Regions from separate parts of the Homo sapiens genome. Here region 2 is linked to region 1. Evidence: promoter capture Hi-C in human tissues and cell types (Jung and others, 2019). All regions are on one chromosome and are shown on one strand. The core of a region is centred on a gene start or on the middle of the fragment in contact, and the rest is flanking DNA. Distances in the headings are between cores, read along the strand shown.

Region 1 (3,822 bases), core at 1,202-3,701:
TGCTAACTTGAGACATCCCCACCTCCCTCTGCATCTCACAAAACTTCTCATGTGCTCAAAACCCAGTCCGTGCAGCTGTCAGGACAGCTACTGCCTGATTCCTCATTTCTGCCACTTCTACTTGCTCAGCATTCCTTCTGCTGTGGACCAGCCCCCTCAGCAGGCACTGCCACTTCTGCTGGTATCATTTCTGCTGCCACTGCTGCTGCTACTCCTGGGCCCTCATGCTACCAAACCAAGCCATGTTCCTGACAAAAGCAGAGAGAGTATGTCTGTCCCCTGTATGTGTCCCACATGGTCACCTGGATACCACGGCAGTACTGTCTGTGACCAGAATCTCAAAAGAGGTCATTCACATACCACCTGCAGCCCCTTCCTCCATGAAGCTTAGATCCACATGTACATGTGTTACAGAGAATGGCTGACACCATACTTCACACACACACACACACACACACACACACACACACACTTGCAAACTCCGTGACTCAAGATTCTGTCCTCCAAAAGCTTCATGAATCTCTCGTGTAAACTGTTCTAACTGTTAATTTACCATAAGTGCCAGGACAAGCCTGACTCCCAGCTCCAGCTCAAGTGAAATTCTCTGCTCTGGTTCTATTTCACAAAAACTGAATCCTTGTCTGGAATGCATTCCCCCTCTCTCCTTACTTCACTTTCATTTCCTTTTGAACTCTAGGACTCAGCTTAGGCCTCTCCTTCTTTAGAAAAACTTCCTTAACCCCTGCTAAAGATGGGCGAAGAGCCCCTTCTAAGTGTTTCTAAAACAATCTGTGCACAGCTCTACACTTTCCCTCACTGAGTCATGTTGCAATTATTATACTATATATAGTATCCACCTATCTATCTATCTATCTATCTATCTATCTATCTATCTATCTATCTATCTATCTATCCACCTATCTATCTATCTATCTGATAAGCTCTTTAATTGCCTGGCAGTACTTGAAGCATAGTAAGCTCTCAACAAATGCTTGTGGAATTCATAGGTCTAATTCTCCAAATGGTAGAATGTGTAGCCCTTGGAAATGTTATATTGAGCTATAGAGATTGCCACTCTTCTCTGCATGGGGAATGAAGATAATTCCATATCTATCCTATATAAAGAGATCACGTTCGTGGCCAGTTATATTGGCCATTAGTGCAAATTCAAATACTTCTCTGTCTCTCATCGTTTTGTGGAAAGGCACTAGAGCTTGTGACATTGTAGACAAAGAATCTTTTCCTGGTCTAGAAAAGAGGTGGGAGAAAATGGAAGTGTTTTTCTTCCCTAAGCAAGCCCTCAGAGAATTACAGTTATCTCACATGAGGGAAGAATGAAACAACCTATCAATGACCTGTAAGTTGCCTCTTTCATGCTAAGCTTCTTATGTACTTTGAAAAATGTGAAATTCATTTCACAGTAATTTGTCTCACCCATTTCAAAGGAAACCCACATGGAAGAATAGCCTCAATAAGAAAGGAAGTAGTTTTACTATTTTCTACTGAATTTTGGTAGAACAGAAAGGATGTTCTCAGCCCATGAATTTGCATATACAAATAGAAATACTTTACTTGGTATAAAAAGACATTTAGTCACAAAAAAAATTTTGACAAAAATGTACTTTTCAGAGTTCCCATTTTGTTATCCTTAGCATTTGCTAACCTTTCACTTTTGTAGATTAGTGTCTGCAGATCTTTATCCCATGTACATTTATTAGGTGCTTCCATATAACAGGCTTTGACTCAGCTTGTTCTGAAATTTTGAATTTGAGTTGAATATTTCTCTACTTCCTAAACAGTTTTATTCATTTAGTTTTAAATGTTATTTTTGATACCTTTAGCAAAGGAGTCTGAACTAGAATGTGGAAGTGGATTCTTCAGAAAAACACCTCTTCTGTTATCTAACTTTATCTCACCACTAATATAATAGCAATGATTTGGGGTTATTTTAAGACACACACTCACACCCACACACAATAATGGCTTCCTTAAACGTATCTGTAATGTAATCAGTAACTTCTTTTTCAGACTCTGAGAATAGGGATTAATTTCTTATGAACTCACAGCCACGTTTACGTACATAAGTTGGTATACACACTATGCATTGAAAATAGTTATATGAATAATTGACAAGAAGCAACCACATTTCACATGATTATTCTCATAGTTGTATAAGGGTGAAAAAACACTTTGCATTCATCAAGTGTTTTTAATACATTCAAAGTCCATTAGAAGCTGGTTTTGCTGACAAAAGAACCAGCCAAATCATCAGTAAAGAAGGGGTGGCCAGTGCGTATTTGTATGTGGGTGAGGGAGGACCTGAAATAGAGTCAGGTCCCGAAGGACCTTACATAGTCAGAATCCTCCTTATTTTTTGTCCCAACTATAATCAACTGTGCTCTAAGATTCTAAGGAGCTTTCTTGCTTGTCTTTCTAGGGTATCAAGGGACATGAGAAATGGCACAGTAATCACAGAATTCATCCTGCTAGGCTTTCCTGTTATCCAAGGCCTACAAACACCTCTCTTTATTGCAATCTTTCTCACCTACATATTAACCCTTGCAGGCAATGGGCTTATTATTGCCACTGTGTGGGCTGAGCCCAGGCTACAAATTCCAATGTACTTCTTCCTTTGTAACTTGTCTTTCTTAGAAATCTGGTACACCACCACAGTCATCCCCAAACTGCTAGGAACCTTTGTAGTGGCAAGAACAGTAATCTGCATGTCCTGCTGCCTGCTGCAGGCCTTCTTCCACTTCTTCGTGGGCACCACCGAGTTCTTGATCCTCACTATCATGTCTTTTGACCGCTACCTCACCATCTGCAATCCCCTTCACCACCCCACCATCATGACCAGCAAACTCTGCCTGCAGCTGGCCCTGAGCTCCTGGGTGGTGGGCTTCACCATTGTCTTTTGTCAGACGATGCTGCTCATCCAGTTGCCATTCTGTGGCAATAATGTTATCAGTCATTTCTACTGTGATGTTGGGCCCAGTTTGAAAGCCGCCTGCATAGACACCAGCATTTTGGAACTCCTGGGCGTCATAGCAACCATCCTTGTGATCCCAGGGTCACTTCTCTTTAATATGATTTCTTATATCTACATTCTGTCCGCAATCCTACGAATTCCTTCAGCCACTGGCCACCAAAAGACTTTCTCTACCTGTGCCTCGCACCTGACAGTTGTCTCCCTGCTCTACGGGGCTGTTCTGTTCATGTACCTAAGACCCACAGCACACTCCTCCTTTAAGATTAATAAGGTGGTGTCTGTGCTAAATACTATCCTCACCCCCCTTCTGAATCCCTTTATTTATACTATTAGAAACAAGGAGGTGAAGGGAGCCTTAAGAAAGGCAATGACTTGCCCAAAGACTGGTCATGCAAAGTAAAACATGCAACACATCAAAGTGAGCTTAATGCAGATAAAAACAATGAAAGTTGAGAGAGGATTTTGGAGAAGTTTGGTAAAACAGGCTCCCCCCAAATCCCAGAAGTTCTGATTCAATGCTATAGTAAGATAAAGATGCAAAAGCAAACCATGATGGTTAAGGTCTCCCATGAGAACTTGTTACATGTAAATGAACTAGGAGTTTTTCTTGAGAAGAAACAATGTAATTCTTCAACAAGGAAGTCCCAGTATATCCTCAGATGCATGAAGTAGAACTCTGGACTTGTCAACTGCAAACTGAAAGTAGAAACCACTAAGGTCAGAGACAAATGTCAACAACTTTAAAAATGTATAAGGAATCCTGTCTCCCTCTTTATTTATGACCACCATCTTTTTTTTTATGACCACCCTCTTTGCCTCATCTTCTTGTCAAA
Region 2 (3,913 bases), core at 933-3,432, 240 kb before region 1:
TAATAAGGTTATTTTCTCATTCATTTCTAATCAGGTTCAGATTATTTGGGGCCATTTCCTCATATCTGTTTTTTTAGATTAATTTCCAGATATTTTATCAAGTAGTAAACAAACAGAAACATTTCTGCCATCTTAACTGAACTCATATTGAAAATAGAAATCATTTTAATATATTTACCATTCACATTATATTCAGTCTTTTTTGTCTTACAAAGAGATATACCTACGCTTGTTCACGTCTTCCTGAATACACCTCACTAGAGTGTCTTATTTTTTATAAATACATTCCTTCCTGTCATGACCTGATAGCCATTCTAAGTTTGTATTTATCTGCTCAGATCATTTATGTGGTAATACGTAAAGTTTAATACTCAGCAAGAACCCTAATTATCCTTATTTCTAAATTCCTAGAAGGCATTTCAATTTGTCGGTATCTACTTAGTCTTTCCAGATTTACTTTCTTTGTCTGTAAAATGAAGTGAAGCAAGATGATCTCTAAGTTATTCTAGATTTTGATATTCAAAAGTCCTATAATTGTTCCAGTCCCACTGAGTTCATAAATGTTCATGATCTGTGCTTTTTGAAAGGAGTATACAGACGGTCTCCAACTTAGGATGGCTCAACTTAATGATTGTGCAAAAGCATTCTATTTTTCATATTCAGTATAGTATTCAATGAATTTAATGAGATATTCAAAATTTTATTATTAAATAGGCTTTCTTTCGGATGATTTGGCCCAACTGTAGGCTAATGGAAGTGTTCTGAGCACATTTAGGATGGGCTAAACTGCGCTATGATGTTTGGTAAGTTAGGTATATTCAATGCATTTTCATCTTATGATATTTTTGACTTAGGATGGGTTTATCAGGACATTAATTCCATTCTAAGTTGAGGAGCATGGAGAAAAACACTCCTAGGAAAGAGATAAGAAAAGAGGTGTCATAGCAAAGTCTCAATTTTTTTGTCAGGCTTGACAGTCACTAGCCAGATTTTTCTCACCTACCATTTTTATGCTATACGCAGGTGGTGAAATACAGTAAGCATGATTTGTTCAAAAAATTATTTCTATTTGAATTTATTTGGTATTTTGACTATTTCATTGAGCTTAAAGGATTAGGCTAAAAATAATTGGGGGAAGTTTAGTCATGTTGATTTAAATTGTATGAACAGTATATGTATAACAGTATATGGTATAAATTGTATATGAACAGTCCAATATTGGAATTGACTTTTCTGTGAAGTAGTGATATTCTCATATTGAAAGGGTCATGTAAAATTCAGCGGTTTGAGTAACTGACTTTTAAAAAATTAAGATTTTATGTTATTTCACATACTATCCAGGGTTAATAGCAACTATTAATAGGACACTCTTTATGCATTATTATTTTCATTTTAAAGGTGTGGAATTGATGTATTTAGCAAGAGGAGAAGAGGAAGTGAGCAATCTTCCAAATATCCTTCAACCAGTAGTTGACAGTGACAGGACAATAAACCCAAGTCCATCTAACTTCATAGTTCATGCCATTTTTTGGCTCTCTTTCAAAGATATTTATGGAAAACATTCTTCTTCTTAGGGAACTATATCACATACACATAGAAAAGTGTAGAAGTATGCTAAGAGAGTTTCTGAACAGGCTACATATCAAAACACACTGTTAAATGCCACTGAGTTTACAGGGGAACCAAAGCATTCTTAGGGTAGAAAGACAACATGGAGAGGATAGGCTTGATCTTAACCTCGAATAGTAGCTTAGATTCTTGCTACTCAAAGTGCAATTCATGGAACCACATAATGGAAATCTCTGGGCACTTATTAGAAAGACAGAAATCTCAGTCCCTACTCCAGACCTGTTGAATTAGGATTTGCAGCTTAACAAGAGTCCCAGGTGACTCATGTGCACACTAAAGTCCGAGAAGCTTTAGAGATGTTATCAGATAAAAATGAAGTTGATTTCTTCAAGGGGGGATTGGGTAGGGTGAGGAGAACAAGAGGAGATTAACAGTAAATTTAGGAGAGGTTGAGAAAATCTACTTGCATAAAGAAATGCTTATTGAACAGAGAAATGTACTTGAGTAGAGAAAAGTTGTAGGGGATAAGAATAAATGGATACCAATCACATTTTAGAAGTTTTGAGTTATAAATTGAGAATTTTGTGTTGCACAGTAAATCAGTATGTGAGATTGAGATTATTAGCATTTGTGGGAGGGGACCAGTGAGATAAACTCTTTTGAAATTTGATCAGTCAATGTTATGCAGGATGAAGTGATTCATTAAAGGGGAGAGGTGAGAGTTGAGAAGACCTTGCAGGAGATTATAATTATAATCCCTGAGACATAATGAAATGAGAGACTCATTATGAAATGAGTCTTTTATGACCATTACCCTCAGTCTCTCATTTCGTTATGAGAATGGCTTATGATGGGTTTCATCTCATTATGAAATGAGAAACTAAGGATAATGGTTATAAAAAATTAAATGCAGATACAAATAAGACTTACATTTCAAGAAAAAGGCTATTCATGTTTTTTAAAAAACAGAAAAATTCAAATGGAATTCTGATATCTAGCTTTACCCATTGAAGAGAATAGAAAGGGTGTGTGTAGTAAGACAAGTCCTTTTTTTTTATTTTTAAAAAATGTTTTATTAAAACTTTAAGCAACTTAATAATGTCAAGATTTTTAAAAAGTATACTCTAATCCCATTTCCTGATCATATCAATTTCTTACATTTCCCCAACTTTGGCTGAAATTTTAAGAATTGTGTTTTTTGGGGGGGGGTTGCATTCTTTTTATTATTATTATACTTTAAGTTTTAGGGTACATGTGCACATTGTGCAGGTTAGTTACATATATATACATGTGCCATGCTGGTGTGCTTCACCCATTAACTCGTCATCTAGCATTAGGTATATCTCCTAATGCTATCCCTCCCCCCTCCCCCCACCCCACAACAGTCCCGAGTGTGATGTTCCCCTTCCTGTGTCCATGTGCTCTCATTGTTCAATTCCCACCTGTGAGTGAGAATATGTGGTGTTTGGTTTTTTGTTCTTGCGATAATTTACTGAGAATGATGATTTCCAATTTCATCCATGTCCCTACAAAGGACATGAACTCATCATTTTGTATGGCTGCATAGTATTCCATGGTGTATATGTGCCACATTTTCTTAATCCAGTCTATCATTGTTGGACATTTGGGTTGGTTCCAAGTCTTTGCTATTGTGAATAATGCCGCAATAAACATACGTGTGCGTGTGTCTTTATAGCAGCATGATTTATAGTCCTTTGGGTATATACCCAGTAATGGGATGGCTGGGTCAAATGGTATTTCTAGTTCTAGATCCCTGAGGAATTGCCACACTGACTTCCACAATGGTTGAACTAGTTTACAGTCCCACCAACAGTGTAAAAGTGTTCCTATTTCTCCACATCCTCTCCAGCACCTGTGGTTTCCTGGCTTTTTAATGATTGCCATTCTAACTGGTGTGAGATGGTATTTCACTGTGGTTTTGATTTGCATTTCTCCGATGGCCAGTGATGGTGAGGATTTTTTCATGTGTTTTTTGGCTGCATAAATGTCTTCTTTTGAGAAGTGTCTGTTCATGTCCTTCGCCCACTTTTTGATGGGGTTGTTTTTTTCTTGTAAATTTGTTTGAGTTCATTGTAGATTCTGGATATTAGCCCTTTGTCAGATGAGTAGGTTGCGAAAATTTTCTCCCATTTTGTAGGGTGCCTGTTCACTCTGATGGTAGTTTCTTTTGCTGTGCAGAAGCTCTTTAGTTTAATTAGATCCCATTTGTCAATTTTGGCTTTTGTTGCCTAAAAATTTAGAGATGAAATCCAGAGAATACTACAAACCACAGAAATTGCCTTGATTATTAACTGAACACACAATTCCAAGCTTTGAAAGAGTT

What was found. Contacts are between HindIII fragments. The study calls those that stand out against the background at their distance.
Region 2: a contact is called between a fragment that was not itself captured here and the fragment with the promoter of OR6X1 in region 1, in 1 of the 25 tissues and cell types used here (liver).

The regions. Positions count from the first base shown.
Region 1 is chr11:123,753,147-123,756,968 of GRCh38, reverse strand. OR6X1 (olfactory receptor family 6 subfamily X member 1) reads left to right here and starts at 2,451. Exons shown (of 1, transcript NM_001005188.1): 1 at 2,451-3,389. The coding sequence starts at 2,451. The coding sequence ends at 3,389. The HindIII fragment of the contact is 6,166 bases long and covers 947-3,822 here.
Region 2 is chr11:123,987,932-123,991,844 of GRCh38, reverse strand. No RefSeq gene overlaps it. Among named protein-coding and RNA genes, the nearest start is that of OR10G6, 5.3 kb to the left of the region's middle. The HindIII fragment of the contact is 7,262 bases long and covers 1-3,913 here.